Linked DNA regions of Homo sapiens: regions 1, 2, 3 and 5 are each linked to region 4. The links are contacts of gene promoters, found by promoter capture Hi-C in blood cells and fetal thymus (Javierre and others, 2016). All regions are on one chromosome and are shown on one strand. The core of a region is centred on a gene start or on the middle of the fragment in contact, and the rest is flanking DNA. Distances in the headings are between cores, read along the strand shown.

Region 1 (3,078 bases), core at 324-2,823, 630 kb before region 4:
GGACGATCTGGGTTCTGAATCGGATTTTGTTGAGTCTGGGTTTTATACGTCCACTAGAGCTGCCCGAGGCTTTGCGCCCTGGATCCTTGGCTTTGCCTCCGACCCACCCCTCAGCCGAGTGGTGATGGTGGTGATGGTCCCCTCCATCTTCTAGGGCGTGTGAGAGTTTGTAGGTGATGAGATGCGAGGGAAGCACCTTTGAAAGCCTCCAGCGCCCGCCGCCGCTACCCGCGGCGCTTTCCCCGTCACCCTCGTCCAGGGCTCCCACCAGGTTCTTGATCTCCTCGGCGATGCTCCGACTCAGGTACTGGGAGGCCTTTTTCCCACTGTAGTCCCTGATGTCCACATCGGCGTCGTAGGCCCCCACCAGCAGCTTCACCACCTCCACGTGGCCGTGCATGGCTGCCAAGTGCAGGGCGGTGTAACCCCCGCTCGTCCTGGCGTCGATGTTCACCGGCAGCTGGTGTTTGTTGGCGAAGTTGACTAGCATGGCCAGAAGCTCCTGCCTGCCGTGCTTGGCGGCCCAGTGCAGGCAAGTGAAGCCGGTAATGAAGTCCCGCTTGACCAGCAGGCCGGGCTCGCAGGTGAGCAAGCCCTCCAGGCTGTCCCACTTGCCATCGGAGGCAGAGAGCATCCACGCGTGCTCCAGGGGGTCCAGCGTCACGGAGCCTCCGCCGCTGCTCTCCTCCTCCGCGGACGACGAGGCCACCGATGCGCTGTCTGAGTCGCCCCCGCCTCTGCCGCGTCCTCCCCCGGAGGAGCTGCCCGGGCTGCTGCCCCCGGGACACACGCTCCTCTTCAGCTGCGGGGAGCTGCCCATCACCAGGTCACGGAGGTTCTGGCGGGCCGGCCTCTGTGCGGTAGCCCCCACAAGGGAGCTGCCCCTGTCCGCCTCCTCGCAGCCATGTGGCGGGAGCTCCAGGTCCTCGCTGGGCCCCGGGGCTGGAGTCCGCGGTAGGGGCTGCACGTCGCGCCGCGAGTTCTTCCTGCGAGCCCCGGCGCTCAGGGGCGGCCAGTGCGCGGGGGCGGGGGGCTCTCCCTCGCCCAGCTCGCGGCCCTGTCCAGGGAGCGACTCCGGGGCCGCCGCGTCGGGGAGCCGATCGCGCGCCTCGGGCCCGGCAGGGCCGTCGGGGGCCTCGGGCTCGGCGGTCACCTGGATTCGCGGCGGGTCCCCGGAGGGCTCGGACGGCCCTTCACAGAACCTCTTCTTGAGGTGCACGTACTTGGCGCCGTCGGCGGGATCGACGCGCACAGTGGCCACGGCGTTCACCAGCTCCTTGAAGTGCGCGCGGGCGCGGGCGCGCTGCTCCGGTTCGCCGCCTAGGGCGCCCCTGAAGTGCTGCACCAGCTCGGCGTGCAGGGCCCGGCCCCCGCGCTCCGCCAGGAAGCGCAGCACCGCCTCGGGGCCCAGCGCCGCCTCGGGGCCCCACTCTGCCGGCCCCTCCATCCTCGACCGCGCTGCTCCCCCGCCAGCGGGCGGCTCAGCGCGGTCCCATAGCGACGGGCTCCCAGCGGCCGGCTCCCGACGGCGGCGGAGTCTGGCGGGCTCAGCGGGCTGCCAGCCTACGCGTCTGAGGCCAGAGGACTCGGCCACCGCCTCACTGGGCCGCGCCCGGGCGGACACGCCCCCCGCACCCCCGCCCCGCGCCCACGCCACCAGGCCACGCCCACTTCCGCTCCCCGCTGTCTCGGCCACACCTACCTAGGGCGGCCTCGCCTCAAGGCCCGCCCACTTCCGGCCTCGCGAGGGCCGCAATCACTGCTCCGCAGTTCCCGCCTGCATTCCTCGCGCCGTCTTCCTGGAGTCCCAGCTCTCCTTCAGCCCGCCCCAACGCTGACGCTCAGTCCTCAGGCGTCGAGGGTAGCTCCTGTGAGGGGCTCGCTTGGCGCAGGCAAAACGCTCAGCGCGCACCACAGGGCGTCCGCCCCAACCCCGCCCCCGGAGGCCTCCAGCTCGGCCCCGCCCCTGTCCCTTCCCCGTCGCGGAGGCAGCCTAGCCTCGCGCCCCGCCCGTTGCTTCTGCCCTCCGGCCTTCCCGCCGCCGTCGCCGGGACCAGCCGCTCGGGGCCGGGCTGATACAGCCGCTTCACCGTGCCCCTGCCCGCGACCATGGCCTCCTCCGAGGTGGCGCGGCACCTGGTGAGTCCCGCCGACGCCGGGGCCCCAGCCCCGCGCTCCCCGGCCCCCGCGGGACTTCCCGCCCTCGACCCACCGGCCCCCTGGTCCGGCCCGGGATTGTGACCCGCGCCCCCTCCGGCCCCGCCCGCCCAGTGCTCCCCGGCTTCCGCGGCGGCCGGGCGCCTGGGGCGGGAGAGGAGCCTCTGCGGAGCCTGGGCGCGGCCGGACCCCGGTTCGCGGGGCGCGGCGCCAGCGTCGGGACGGTGGGAGAGTTCTTGAACGACTTCCCGGTCTTTGCCAAAAGTTACATCCACAGCGGTGTTTGTGGGTCTCTTACGGCTATAACGGAGTTGAAGGCGCAGTGCGGACTGATTGAATAGCGGTCATCTTTTGCAGCCGTGAGCACTTCCGAGCCTCCCTGCCGCCGGGAGAAAGCCCGGCTCCCCTGGCTTTTCAAAAGCTCTCCCGTTTTATCCGATGGTGTGGTCGTCCAAGTTTTCCTCCATTGGGATTTTAAACCGTTTTTTTCCCGCCTTGACTCTTTTGTACTCTAAAAGAACGCGTTTGTTCACTGTTTTGAACCTTTCCAGTTACTTTTGTAGATTTATCTCGCTTGTTAGTAAGCCAGCGGTTTTCCAAGTGTGGTTACAACTATTTTCGTTAATAGTACCAAGGTCGTGTACATCGAGTTTTCCAAAGGCTACATGGTATGGAGTGATCTCACCGCCGTTTGGAGGCCCGATGCCTGTGTATTCTTAAAAACAAATTCTCCCTTTTAATTTTTGATAGTAAACATTGGTGGTTTTCATCTGTGTAAACAAAAGCTCTTTGGAGGCTGGAGACCAAAAAGTTTGAGAACCACTCTACTAAGCAACCTCCTACATGAGAAGTTTAAATTGTAGAAACAGTTCAGATTGCAGGCTGAGAGATTAGAGGATCCGTCCAAAGTGACACCGTTGG
Region 2 (3,097 bases), core at 271-2,770, 540 kb before region 4:
ACTCAAACTCCTTTCCCGCTGCAGGGGAAGGACACAAACACCATCCTTGTCCTAACATACCATGTTCTGCCTGTGTCAGCTTCCTAGGCAAGCAACTGGTTTTCCAGAGATGGGCTGCCTGGGGCCCAGGCCTCTCTGCTTAGTCTCCAGGACCAGCACAGTGAAGGCGTGCGGCAGCTGATGGATGCACTTTGGCTGAGCTGGGTTCAGGCACACACATCTGCTTCGTGTGGGTTTGTGTGAGGTGTTGCACATGTAAACATTTGTAGGTATGTGTATTTGTGCACGTGTGTGTGTGTAGGGTCATCTGGTAGCTATTGTAAAAATCCATTATTTCTATAAGCTAAATTAAGACATTTAATTGGTCAAGCACAATTTGTCAAGTGTGAGCTTTATGGCAAGCACTATCCTCATTAGACACTACACCAAGTCCTTGTGCATACCCAGCCCCCACGCAGGCAGGCTCGAGCCTCGTGCTAGAGTCGAACATGTGCTGGCTGAGGCAGACACATCTCTGAGAACACATTTGTAGGCCATCAGAGAGGGTCTCCTAGAGAGGAAGCAGCCCACCAGAGGGTTGAATAGGAATTCACCAGGCTGAGGTGGTCCCAGGCAAGGGTGGAGAGAGGGTGCATCTGGGGACCCAAGAGCCGGGGAGAATATCAATTGCAGCTGTCATCGGTGAGCCCCCTGTGCCAGAGTGCATGGCAGACACATCCGTGCACTTCCTCCCACCCTTGGGCCTCCAGAAAGTCTGCTTTCTGGTGTCATTCAAAGAGGAGGTGAGCCGGGCGTGGTGGCTCACACCTGTAATCCGAGCACTTTGGGAGACCAAGGCAGGTGGATCACTTGAGGTCAGGAGTTCGACACCAGCCTGGCTAACATGGCAAAACCCTGCCTCTACTAAAAATACAAAAATAAATAAGGCATGGTGGCACATGCCTGTAGTCCCAGCTAACTACTTGGAAGGCTGAGGCACGAGAATTGCTTGAACCCCAGAGGTGGAGGTTGCAGCGAGCTGAGATCAGACCACTGCACTCCAGCTTGGGCGACAGAATGAGACTCCATCTCAAAAAAATAAAAAATAAAAAGGAGGTGAGAGTGGCTCAGAGAGGCTGGTGCCTTGCCCAGGGCCACAGGCAACAGCAGGCAGCCCTGGGCTTAAACCCAAGAAAGGAAGCCTGTGCCTCGAATTTGAGGTCTCAGAGGGTGGCAGATGAGCTTTCCTGAGAGACAAAAGAGGGAAATAGCATCTGTGAAAAGACATAAGGAACTTAGTCTGGTGCTTACTGTGCCCTGATTCCTGGTCACCTGTGGGCGTGTGTCAGGGGCCCTGATGGTGACTGGTTGTGGTGGCTCTGGTGCTCGGGATTGCGAGCAGCTCCAGAACCTGGGTGACACCACCTCCCCACTCACTGGGCCACAGTGGGCTGCAGAGACTGTTAATGCTGAGGCTTCTGAGCTGGGAAAATTAGCAATAGCAGCACAAAGAAAATTACCCTCCATCTGCTTCCAATGACAATGGTAGGACCAGAGAGATCCCAAAACCTGAACAGAGGAGGAAACTCGGAGCCACATCCAGGACAGGCCTCCAGCAGGTAGGAAGTGCAAGTAGGAAACGCATCAATGATTTAGGGAGGAGGCTGCTTTTGCTAGTAAGGACAGTGGCCAGAGGGCCACTGAGAGCCTCCTCTCTGGCATCTTACAACAAATGGGCACCGAGCAGGTTGTCCTGAGCTACCCTGATGGTGACCAAGTTGTTGTCCAGGAATGTTTCCATCCTGCCCTGAATGCCGGGTGCTGGACCTCCTCATGGCTGCAGTGCCCTGGGGTTCACGTCACCAGCCCACCACTTTGTGGTTGGCGTCAGCTCGGGGAGTGTAGGCCTGTGGGGCTCCGGCTGGTGAGGGTGCAGGTAACTAGCACTTTCAGCCCTCAGGCATGGTGGCTCATGCCTGTAATCCCAGCACTTTGGGAGGCCAAGGTGGGCAGATCATTTGAGGTCAGGAGTTCGAGACCAGCCTGGCCAAGATGGTGAAAACCTGTCTCTATTTCTTGTAAAAATTCAAAAAAAATTAGCTGGGCGTGGTGGCACATGCCTGTAGTCCCAGCTACTCAGGAGGCTGAGGCAGAAGAATCTCTCGAACCCGGGAGGCAGAGGTTGCAGTGAGCCAAGACCGCGTCACTGCACTCCAGCCTGGGTGACAGAGTGAGACTCTGTCTCAAAAACCAAACAAAAAACAAAAACAAAAACAAAAATGATGTCAAGGGATATTTGCTGAAGCCTCATCCATAACCACAAAAAAAAAAAAAAAAACAACGGTAAGGAGCCTAAATGCCCACCATGGGAAAGTGTTGAACTAGTCTGTGATGTGGGGACAGCAGGCAGCTGCAGAAGCACTGAGTGAAGATGCAGAGGACGGATGAATCCTGACCCTGCTGAAAGGAACATAACTGAAGATCTGCGCCGAGGAGGAACCCAGGGCTTGGGAATTCCATGTGCCATTTGTTTCCTTCTTGATTCTTTTCCCTTCTTTTCTATATATTCTATAATTAGGACTTTCTCATTTAGAAACCCTTAAAAATTTAAAAATGGAAGGCCTTTTTAGATTTTTTAATTTTAATTTTTATTTATTTATTTATATATTTTTTGAGATGGAGTCTTTCTCTGTCACCCAGGATGGAGTGCAGTGGCGCGATCTCAGCTCACTGCAACCTCTGCCTCCCAGGTTCAAGAGATTCTCCTGCCTCAGCTGGAATTACAGGCATGCTCCACCACGCCTGGCTAATTTCTGTATTTTTAGTAGAGACAGGGTTTCACCATGTTGGCCAGGCTGGTCTCGAACTCCTAGCCTCAAGTAATCTGCCTACCTCGGCCTCCCAAAGCGCTGGGATTACAGGCGTGAGCCATCGCGCCCAGTGTTGTTTTGTTTTTTTTTTTTTTTTTTTTTTGAGACAGGGTCCCACTCTGTCACCCTAAGATCCCTAGCAGGAGCTGATATTCACAGAGCGTGTTATGGCTGCTTCACTCCGGCTTTCACACACATGATCTCATTCAAATCCCCATGTCATGAGAAGGTGACAGTGGGCAGCGTGT
Region 3 (3,353 bases), core at 844-3,343, 520 kb before region 4:
TGCCAGCCTGTAGGCCTGACCAGAGGCACACTGGATTGCGGGAGAACTTTTTGTTCTTTTTGATCAAAGAGTATGTTGTCACCAGATGGGGGCATGTGGTATACTGGGCCACCTGGTGCTGTCATCAGAGGCCACAGAGGACAGCTGAGAACTTGTTGTGGCTGTGGGACCTCATTCTCCAGTCCCGAGTCAGGCTTCAGGGAGCACTGTCACAGCAAGTCAGACAGGGACAAGTGTCAATGGCCCTGACATCAGCCAGGCCTCCCGAGGCCAAGAACAGGCTGAGGAGTTAGGAGTGCGGCCTTTGGAGCCAGACTGCCAGTGCTTGAATCCTAGGTGCCGCACCTCTTTGCCCCTTCCTGAGGCGAGTTGGTTAACTGCTCTCTGCCTCAGTTTCCCCATCTGTGAAATTGCATGGTCATAATTCCTACTTCATAAGCCTGATGTGAGGACAAAAACGAGGCAATGGATGTAGAGTGCTAAGCATGGGGCGGGCGCAGAGGGTGGGCTTAGTACATGCTTAACACGCACTTGCCATCTTCAGCACCCACGAGGAGGCCAGGGGCTCCTGGAAGGGCCCACTCCCCATAGCTCCGGCCACCCGTCCCACCTTTGCTCTCTGCCGCTTCCCCTGCAGGAAAGCCTCTCTTGCTTTTGTTGCAGTCACCCAGCATGGGCCCCACTCTGCTCACCCTGGCTTTAGCTGGAGGAGGCCAGCTCCTGGTCAGACGGGGCCCTTCCCCAGCCCAGGCTGGGCAGGGAGGAGGGGTCACCCCATGGCACACACAAGTGGCTGTTTTGTTGGGAAGGGGCTGTGGGTGCTCAGAGCCCCTGGTCCCGGCTAGGAACAGAAATGAAGCCCTGGACCCCATCAGCCCTCTGGGCTGCAGAGGGTGAGGATGGAACCGGGGTTCCTTCAGTCTGGTAGTCACTGCACAAATGTGAGAAGAGCTACCTCGGGGTTTCCCTCTAGGACATGTGGAAGGCTTCCCCTCGGCCTCCACATCGGACTGACTTGTCAAAGGACCCTCGGGGCTGTCTGCTCCCCCACATGCCCTCACCGCCCCCTTGGCAGAGACGCCTTGCCCTTTGCCCAGCATCTGCTGTGCCAGCTTCCCACATTCATACGAGCCATTCCCTGTGCCACCAACAGAGGGAGCTCCCGACACAGTTTGCATCTAAACACCCCTTGAGAGCCCAGGAAACACTGCCTCCTGCTTCTGGCCTGGAAGGCTCAGAGACCTACCCCTGGCCATTCTCACCTCAGCCCTCTCCTCCACACCTGCTCTGGGCTCCCTCAGTTTCTTGATCCTGCCAAGCTCTCCCCAGCCTCGGGTTGGGGTGTGCACACACACCGTTCCCGCCAACCGAACATTCTTTCCCCTCTTCCTGCCTTGTGAATTTCTAAACAAGACTACAGTGTGGAGGTCCAGATAAGACCCGGACACCCTCTAAGTGGCCCTCCATGCCCCTCACCTCTCCAACTAGATAAGAGTTTCCTGCGATCCCTTAGTACTTTGCCCTATAGTATTTGCCCGGTAGCTATCGCCTAGTTATTTTGATTAATTTAACTTTTGACTTCATTATGACCTGGTCTCCATGAGCACAGGCACATGGGCTGAATTATGTTCCCCGAAAATTCATATGTTGAAGTCCTAGCCCCCAGTGCCTCAGCGTGTGTCTCTGCTTGGAGATTAAATTAAAATGAGTCCATTGGTGGGCCTAATCTGGCCTGACTGGTGTCCTTGTGAGAAGGGTGAGGGTGCAGGGGGTGGAGGATGAGAAATTGCTTAAAGGGGACATGTCATGTATGTTATTCGGGTGATGGATACACTAAAACTCCTGACTTGACCACTATGGCATGTAACAAAATTGCACCCCATAAATTTACACAAATTCATTTTAAAAAGAAGAGGAACACTGGATACAGACGCACAGAGATGAATCCGGGCAAGACGACCCGCCACAGCTGCTTGACAGAGTGAGGAGACGGCGGTGTGCAAGCCGAGGAGAGAGGTCTCAGAGGAAACCAACCCTGCTGCAACTTCAACCTTGGACTTCCAGCCTCCAGCACTTTGAGAGAATATATTTCTGTTGTTTCAGCCACGCAGTGCATGGTATTTTGATATGGCAGCCTAAGTGACTGATACAGGCACGTGGGTTTGCACACTTCTTTCCATAGCACCAAACACCGCATAATCTGACAGGCGGCTGGGCCCCACCAGGCAGACCTCCAGGAAGGCCTGAATACATGAGGTGGGTCCTCTTGCCTGGATTCATCTCCGTGACCCTGGTGCTGGGCCCAGAGCAGAAGTAGCTGTTGAATGAATGAGTAGAGTGGGAAGGGGTGGAGAGAAGATGCCCAGACCCAGGCAAGTCCTGTGTGACCCTGACGGATGGGCACTTCCTTCCATTTCTCCCGGCAGGAATGGGTAAGCTGGTTGTGAGCTCCTTGACTCATGTGCTGGTGTTGTGTATTCTTGCCAAGAACGTCCAGAGGAAGCGCTCTGGGACCCATCATGGAGTGGACTGCATCCCCCCGTCCCGGGCTTGTAGCGCCTTTGCTCCTCAGGCACAGACTGCCGAGTCCATGACTACCCACACGGCTTGCCTTCCTCTCCAGATGTGAACTCTGGCTGGGGTGGGCAGCTGTGTCTCTCCTTTCATGCCTTATCTGGGGTGCCCTGTCTGAGCACTTACATTCATCTGTGACTGCTCACTGATCTGATAAGTGAGTGGGTGAAGCCAGGCCATCGAGGGGTGTGGTGAGTGGGTGTCCCATGTGACACTTCCTGGCTGTCTCCAGGCTTTCATCTGCTTCCATTTTTTTTTTTTGGAACATTACAGAACGTTACTTTTTCCAAATAAAGAGTTCTTTCTTCACATTTGTAATGATGTCCACGTCTGTTGACGTTTCCTCTGGGACTTCTTTTAGATCCAGTTTTTATATCTCATTTTCCTAAATATGGTATGGTGGCCCTCGGAAGACGCGTGCTTTTGCACAGTGCCATGGGGTTCCAGGGCAATGTCCTGGAGGAGCGGCCCTGGGGAGTGTGCGTCTGCAGTTTTTGTCTGCCCGGTCATGAGCTCCTTTTGTTTTTGCCAATAGCTCTACGTGTATCTTCTCACCCCCACTCTCAATCCATGAAGTCTGGGCAGGGCTGACACCTCAGGCGCTATCAATCAGTATATACATGTCCCCTGTCCAAAATGGCTGAGTCAGGGAGGGCAGCACGGGCCCAAACGGAGCCAGTGAGAGTCAATGCCAGGGTTTTGGCTGGGCCCATGGAGAAGGAGCAGGCCTATTTTTGCAGGGATGGGGAAGGTGTCAGATGGCACCCTGAACCTGCTGG
Region 4 (3,088 bases), core at 352-2,851:
ACTCGGCATGAGCAGGGTAGACAACCAAACCTGAAAATTCAAGTTAAAATTCTTGTTTGGGAGCTTATATTATCTAGATTAATCATCCACAAGGATCAAGTCAGCTAAGTAACTCTGGTTCAGCTTAATCTCTGTGGAGGCAGAATTAGTCCTTTACAGTCTAGGTCCTTGCCCCAGCCCCATACATTTCTGTCTGCTTTTTTCTTTTCTTTTCTTTTCTGTTTTGAGACAGATTCTCGCTCTGTTGCCCAGGCTGGAGTGCAGTGGCACAATCTCGGCTCACTGCAACTTCCATCTCCTGGGTTCGAACAATTCTCCTGCTTTAGCCTCCACACATGCCACCACCGGCTAATTTTTGTATATTTTTTTTTTTTTTTTTTTTTGAGACGGAGTCTCGCTCTGTCACCCAGGCCGGACTGCGGACTGCAGTGGCGCAATCTCGGCTCACTGCAAGCTCCGCTTCCCGGGTTCACGCCATTCTCCTGCCTCAGCCTCCCGAGTAGCTGGGACTACAGGCGCCCGCCACCACGCCCGGCTAATTTTTTGTATTTTTAGTAGAGACGGGGTTTCACCTTGTTAGCCAGGATGGTCTCGATCTCCTGACCTCATGATCCACCCGCCTCGGCCTCCCAAAGTGCTGGGATTACAGGCGTGAGCCACCGCGCCCGGCCTAATTTTTGTATTTTTAGTAGGGACGGAGTTTCACCATGTTGGCCAGGCTGATCCCAAACTCCTGACCTCAAGTGATCTGCCCGCCTCAGCCTCCAAAGTGCTGGGGTTACAGGTGTGAGCCACGGAGCCCAGACTGTTTCTTTCTTAAGCTCTTACTTTCTCATGTGTGAGTTACCTTGTAGGTTTCCAAGGCAGAGGGGACAAGATGGAAAAGGAGAACACAGAAATCTAGCCTGGAGGAGCTGCTCTGTTCCTGTATTTATCTGTGTAGGTGTGAATGAGGGAGAAAATGACAAGAGAATGACATTATTTTAAGGCTGTTTTCCCCCCCCCAATCATTTACTTTTTGAGAAATAATTGCCCAATACTGAAAGGTATGTCCTTTCAAAATGTTGATGTTTCAAATGGCTTCCTAATTACCTAGTTATACGGGGGGTGTGTATGGTTATCTGAAGTTACATGGGTATACACTGGTGGTGTGAGGTGTCCAGAGAGAGGAAAGGAAGAGCAGTCCTGGTGGCTCAAACCCTGAGGGATGTGCGGGGGATGGGTGAGAATGTGAACAGACATGTTGGAAGCTGAATCCGTGCAGTGGCACCCATGCCTGTAGCCATCTCAGTGGGGGGTCCTTCTACGAACAAGCTTTGATTAATGATATTTTAATGCTAGTTTAGCTTTTTAGCACTCCCACGCCTAAAGGCTCTGATAGAAGCAAGGCCCCCACCCCTGCAAAAAAAAAAATCCATGATTTTTACGCATTCCAACAGATCTCTTAAGGGGCAGACGGCCGGAGAGCCAGGTGTGCCAGGGACCTATGGCAGCAGGGCTGAACGTGCCCGCTCCAGCCTCTCCAGTGCTGGGAGAGACCTCTAGATGGTGCAGGTGAGTTTGCAATGAGGGAAAGCCCCTCGGCAAGGACTGAGTTTCCAAACTTGCAGACAGGGCAGGGAGCGGTCAAGGAAGAGTTCCCGGGAAGCCCTTTAAACGGAAAGGAAGCGGGGCTAGTGTCAGAGAGGTGTGCCAGGTCCCAGGCAGCCCTGCTGGCCCCTAAGGACATAGAGTACCTGCTTCTGAGAGGGCTGCCACGGTGGCCACCTGTGAAGCCTGTCACCCAGAACTGGATGGTACCTGACTTTCTTCATAGACCCATCTTCTGCTGGGACTGAAGCTGACCTCCAACAGAAGCCAGGTAAGCCCTGGTCCTTTCCTCTGGTTTTCTAAACTCTTCAGCTGTGGCCGAGACGGAGGTGTCATGGGCTGGGAGAGAGGCTGGGTGCATTTTTGAAATGCATGTCATTTTTGGGTTGCGTTTGAACAAGCTTTACCGATTGCAGTATGTCTGCGCTACCAGTTCTAAGACCTGAGATTGTTCCTTTGTTTTAGAAAAACATCAGAAACCCTGTTTTGCTGTTGGTTGCACATTTGGTTAGGGAGACAAATTCTGTGTGTGCTTCACAGGCTTTAAGATTTGGGCTACTGAAGCAACGGGTTCCTCCAGGGAGCGTGAAAAGTATGTTTCTCAGGTTTGCCCCTGTGCCCGGCTCACTGGGGAAGGCAGGCGCGGCAGGGACTCTAGCTGGGCTCTGTACCTGCCTCCAACTCTGCGTACCCGCTGTGACCTAAGAGACCTTCCAAGTGGGGTTTCCAGTCGTGTCTGAGACCCCCCATATCCTGGCCTCTGTGTTGGTGGCGGGGGAGCGGGGAGAGGGAGAGAAGGAGGGGAGTGGGTACCTATTTGTGATGATTGAGGTTTTCATTTCCAGCCAAGAGGTTCCTCTCAACACTCTGACAGACCGTGGGGTGGGTTGGGCTCCTAGACAGGAGTCGGCTCTGATTCAGTCGGCTCTGATTCCCAGCCTCCTGCAGCAGCCAAGCTTTGAGATGTCAGCTCAGGGAGAAGCGGGTGGCTGGGCAGGGAGGTCAGCAGGCGAGGTTCCCACTGGGTTTCCCTGCCCATGTTGTGCTGGGTCAGCAACAAGAGGGACAGTTAAAATCAACAAGCAGGGCAGATGCCGGTCAGTGGGCAATCCCACACAGCCAGGGGTACACGCATGTGAGGAGACGTACGGAGAGACAGGAGCACCACCGTCCTCTTCCCCAGTCCCCAGGCCACTGCTCTGTGGCTCTCAAGTGGCATTTTTGAGACACTTTCTAAGCAAGAGTGAAAGTGTAACAAAGAAGTGAAGAGCCATAATAGACTGAAGGAAAAAAGGGATCCAGGCATCTAAAATAGAGAATGTTTCTTGCCTGGCTTAATACTCTGAGATTTGTAAGTCATAGCCACTTAAAACCTTTAAAGATACATTTTGACAGAGGCCACCAAAAAGAGAGTGACTCTGGTCAAGGCTTGGAAATAAGCGTTCGTTCCGATGACAGTCCACGTGTACCCTTCACGGCTGGGAAAGTTTGGCGATCC
Region 5 (3,267 bases), core at 164-2,663, 560 kb before region 4:
ACAGAGCACAGGACACAGAAAGAACTACCCAGGGTGGCAGCTGGAGCAAGCTGAGTTTCCTATTTTTTGTTATTAACAATGGCTAATATTTATCGAGTGCTTACTCAGTGCCAGCCATCATGGTAAAAACGTTAGATAGATGTTTTCTTTTGGTATATCCCAGTTGTTTTAAAGCTTCCTTTTTATTTGTAAGTTTCCAGAGTTTTATGCCCTTCATAGCTTTGAGAAATATGCCTTCTATGATCCATATAGGGCATTCCTTAAATTGTGGAACAAAATAAATTAAAAGGCCTGCCCCAAAATTGACATCTAAGGTGACATTGCTCCCTTTATATGGTTTATCAAGATGATTTTCAGCCCCAAGGAGGTGAAAAACTGCTGAATTGTATTCTTTAAATAATTTTTTCTTCTGCTTTTTTCACTTAAGAGAAATCTCTTGAAACTCATTTAACAGTTGTATACGGGAAGAATAACCCCTATAGGTTCTTATTGGAATGACCCCTTATTTTCAGATTAACCAAAAAAAAAAAAAAAAAACAAGTTTATTAGCATGTATATTTCACATATACAGGGGTGATACAGTCAATGAGTAGTTCTCAAAGAGGCGACTGCATTCTACCTTCTATAGCATCTTCAACAAAGAACAGTTAATTTTTACAGAAATGACAAGACAAAGGAAAAGGACTTGGAGTCTCTAGAGGCAGCAACTTGGAGGAAGGCACATAGCTGGCAGATGAAGGCTAGTCAGTAAAGCTAGTTAATGTAGAGCTGTCTGGTACCAGTCTCCAGGCCCAAAAGGGTCTGAAGTTGTCTTTGGTGGTTAACCTTTGTTCTCCCTGGTTGGGGAAGGGGGCTGGATACCTTTTTTCTTTGTACATCTGTATCCTGCCTTTAGGCGCCTAAAGGGAGGTCAGAGAGCTTTCCTGTATCTGCTGCTTCTTAGTTGCCCTCAGCTCAACAGTCCTGCACATTCTGCTCTCCTACAGCTGCATCAAATGTATTTAGCATTAATTTATTCTTTATCTTTATTGGCTATGTAGGCAATGTTTTTCCTATTATAGTGTAAATTCTACTATGATGAGTATTTTTATATGTAAAGCTTTCTCTGAATTTAGGATTTTTTTAAGCCTAGATCTCAGGACATTGAAAGACTATGGAAAAATAGAATACAGTTTTAACATTCTTGACATAGTTGACAATTGACACTTGCTTTCCAGTGATGTTTACTAGTACAGTTTTCAATAACTGTTTACTGCATATATTTTATTTGGAAAATAGTGTTGTTGTTTTTTTCCTTTCTGGTAATTTCTTTCTATACTTTGCATCTCTTATTTTTATTGAGCATGGACTTGAGAGACTTTAAGAAGTTTTGTAGGGAAAATACACACCGAGAAAATAAAAACTCTAGGAAAAGTTCACAATGTTTTAAAAATAGTTTTGTACATAAAGCTATGATTTTTGCATGGGAACTCATTTAAATTAAAGTTACCAAGGGAATTCCATATGTAAACTTTTCCTTGAACTATGAACTTCTGAGACTTCAGAAAGATTTTGACTGTGTAGGTTATTCTGTGTTGCGCTATGGGGTCCGCCTTTGTGTTGCTGAGCTGGAGAGCGTGCCTCTGCTGCCGCGCTGTGTCAGTAGTGGGGATTGCACTTTTGTTTCCAGCTACAGGCCAAATTTGAGCACCTTAAGAGACTTCACCAAGAAGAGAGAATGAAGCTTGAAGAAAAGAGAAGACTTTTGGAAGAAGAAATAATTGCTTTCTCTAAAAAGAAAGCTACCTCCGAGATATTTCACAGCCAGTCCTTTCTGGCAACAGGCAGCAACCTGAGGAAGGACAAGGACCGTAAGAAGTAAGAGGCCCAGCCACCCTCCCTGGCAGCCCTGCCCACACTTGTCACATTGCCCTGTCGGATCTTCCTAGCGCTTCTTACTTCTGCTTCCTTATGCTTTGTCTTCCTTCTCCAACTAAATGTCAGCTCCTGGAGAGGAGAGACCTTGTCCCTCTTGTTCACTGCTGTTTCCCCAGCATCCAGAACAGCACCTGGCACATGTTATGTGTTCAGTATTTGCCAAAATGAATGAATGAACAAAATAAAAATACATCACAGTGTGAAAAGGATCAGTTAGCTGGGGGAAAATGGCTGCTCTTATTGAATAGCCCAGCCGTGGCCCTAGTACACAGCTAATGGCTGCTGACCTACCATGAGTTATTTTGAATTTCATGTCTAAATAAAGCTGTGCCCTTTGTTGGGGAATTATAGACATAAGATAGTATTTTATTGAATTAATTCTTAGGTTCAGTTTTTTAGAACAAATTCTACTGATACTGATTTTGTGAGAATTTTTATTTTAATAAGGGAACCAGGCTGTCGATTCGAACTCCTGTGCATTGATGTCAGAGCTTGTGAAACCAATGGTGGACGTAAAGACGCAGAGAAAGGTAGAGAGGGCCACAGTGCAAGGGGGCAGCCATGAGTAGCATGTGGATGATAATCGCAAGGCGTGTAGGTTTGGGGTATGTGTTAAAATCAGTTACCCAAGTTTTAGAAAATAAGTTTATTTTTCCTTTTTGATAATTTCCTTCTGTACTTTGTGTCCCTTGTTTTATTTCTCCCACTTAAGTATCCCTGTCGGTTTAACTATTTGGCTCTTGAGGAAATTCATCATGCCTTGTTCTATTCAGAATGCTCATTTGGGGGACTCTGCCTCAGTTTACTCTAGCTACCTCTGTGCTAGCAGCGTTGCATGCTCCCATGTTCCCCACAGAGCAACACATCTGGTTTAATGCTCTCACTGCATCTATTTCAGACCCATTTTCAGAATATTGCAACTCAACTTTAAAATAGGAAAACATAACCTTGGCCCATTGGTGGCTTTCAATTTTTAAATATGGAGAAGTAAACCACAGGACTTTGGCAGATTTTATTGGCTTATATATTTTACAGGTATTTTTGTTTGTTTGTTTGTTTTTTTGGAAAAGAGGAAGGAATTCTCATGTATGATCTTTCAATGCAAGCTCTCCAAGGGCATGGATCTTTATCTTGTTCATTGATATAGCCATCCCCAGAGCCTAGAGCAGTTGTCTGGTACATAGTAGGCATGCAATTATTTTTGAAAGAATAAATAGTATAAAAGCTGTATTTTATTCAAGCATTGAATTTAGAAAGATAAACTATAAATTTATTACTGCTTTTCAACATGCTTTGGATTTTAAAGCTAATGGATCTTTTATTAATACCTTTTTTCCTTTCATCTTAACC

The links. The method cuts DNA at HindIII sites, captures the fragments that hold promoters and counts their contacts. A CHiCAGO score of 5 or more calls a contact.
Region 1: the fragment with the promoter of SOWAHC here is called in contact with the fragment with the promoter of EDAR in region 4 in 8 of 17 cell types (naive CD4 T cells, fetal thymus, non-activated CD4 T cells and 5 more); the score reaches 10.2 in naive CD4 T cells.
Region 2: a fragment that was not itself captured here is called in contact with the fragment with the promoter of EDAR in region 4 in 8 of 17 cell types (non-activated CD4 T cells, M0 macrophages, naive CD4 T cells and 5 more); the score reaches 10.1 in non-activated CD4 T cells.
Region 3: a fragment that was not itself captured here is called in contact with the fragment with the promoter of EDAR in region 4 in 15 of 17 cell types (naive CD4 T cells, non-activated CD4 T cells, total CD4 T cells and 12 more); the score reaches 33.5 in naive CD4 T cells.
Region 5: a fragment that was not itself captured here is called in contact with the fragment with the promoter of EDAR in region 4 in 4 of 17 cell types (naive CD4 T cells, M2 macrophages, M0 macrophages and 1 more); the score reaches 6.1 in naive CD4 T cells.

The regions. Positions count from the first base shown.
Region 1 is chr2:109,612,859-109,615,936 of GRCh38, reverse strand. It overlaps SOWAHC (sosondowah ankyrin repeat domain family member C), which reads right to left and starts at 1,573. Exons shown (of 1, transcript NM_023016.4): 1 at 1-1,573. The coding sequence starts at 1,447. It overlaps SEPTIN10 (septin 10), which reads left to right and starts at 1,971. Exons shown (of 11, transcript NM_144710.5): 1 at 1,971-2,139. The coding sequence starts at 2,110. It also overlaps a transcript of RANBP2 not described here. RefSeq lists silencers at 1,520-1,689, 1,950-2,199, 2,230-2,319 and an enhancer at 2,172-3,078. The HindIII fragment of the contact is 4,568 bases long and covers 1-3,078 here.
Region 2 is chr2:109,524,300-109,527,396 of GRCh38, reverse strand. It overlaps a transcript of RANBP2 not described here. Among named protein-coding and RNA genes, the nearest start is that of SEPTIN10, 88 kb to the left of the region's middle. The HindIII fragment of the contact is 6,274 bases long and covers 1-3,097 here.
Region 3 is chr2:109,508,111-109,511,463 of GRCh38, reverse strand. It overlaps a transcript of RANBP2 not described here. Among named protein-coding and RNA genes, the nearest start is that of SEPTIN10, 100 kb to the left of the region's middle. The HindIII fragment of the contact is 5,398 bases long and covers 1-3,353 here.
Region 4 is chr2:108,987,733-108,990,820 of GRCh38, reverse strand. EDAR (ectodysplasin A receptor) reads left to right here and starts at 1,601. Exons shown (of 12, transcript NM_022336.4): 1 at 1,601-1,861. It also overlaps a transcript of RANBP2 not described here. RefSeq lists an enhancer at 2,627-3,088. The HindIII fragment of the contact is 677 bases long and covers 1,317-1,993 here.
Region 5 is chr2:109,544,640-109,547,906 of GRCh38, reverse strand. It overlaps SEPTIN10 (septin 10), which reads left to right. Exons shown (of 11, transcript NM_144710.5): 10 at 1,670-1,857. It also overlaps a transcript of RANBP2 not described here. Among named protein-coding and RNA genes, the nearest start is that of SEPTIN10, 68 kb to the left of the region's middle. The HindIII fragment of the contact is 624 bases long and covers 1,102-1,725 here.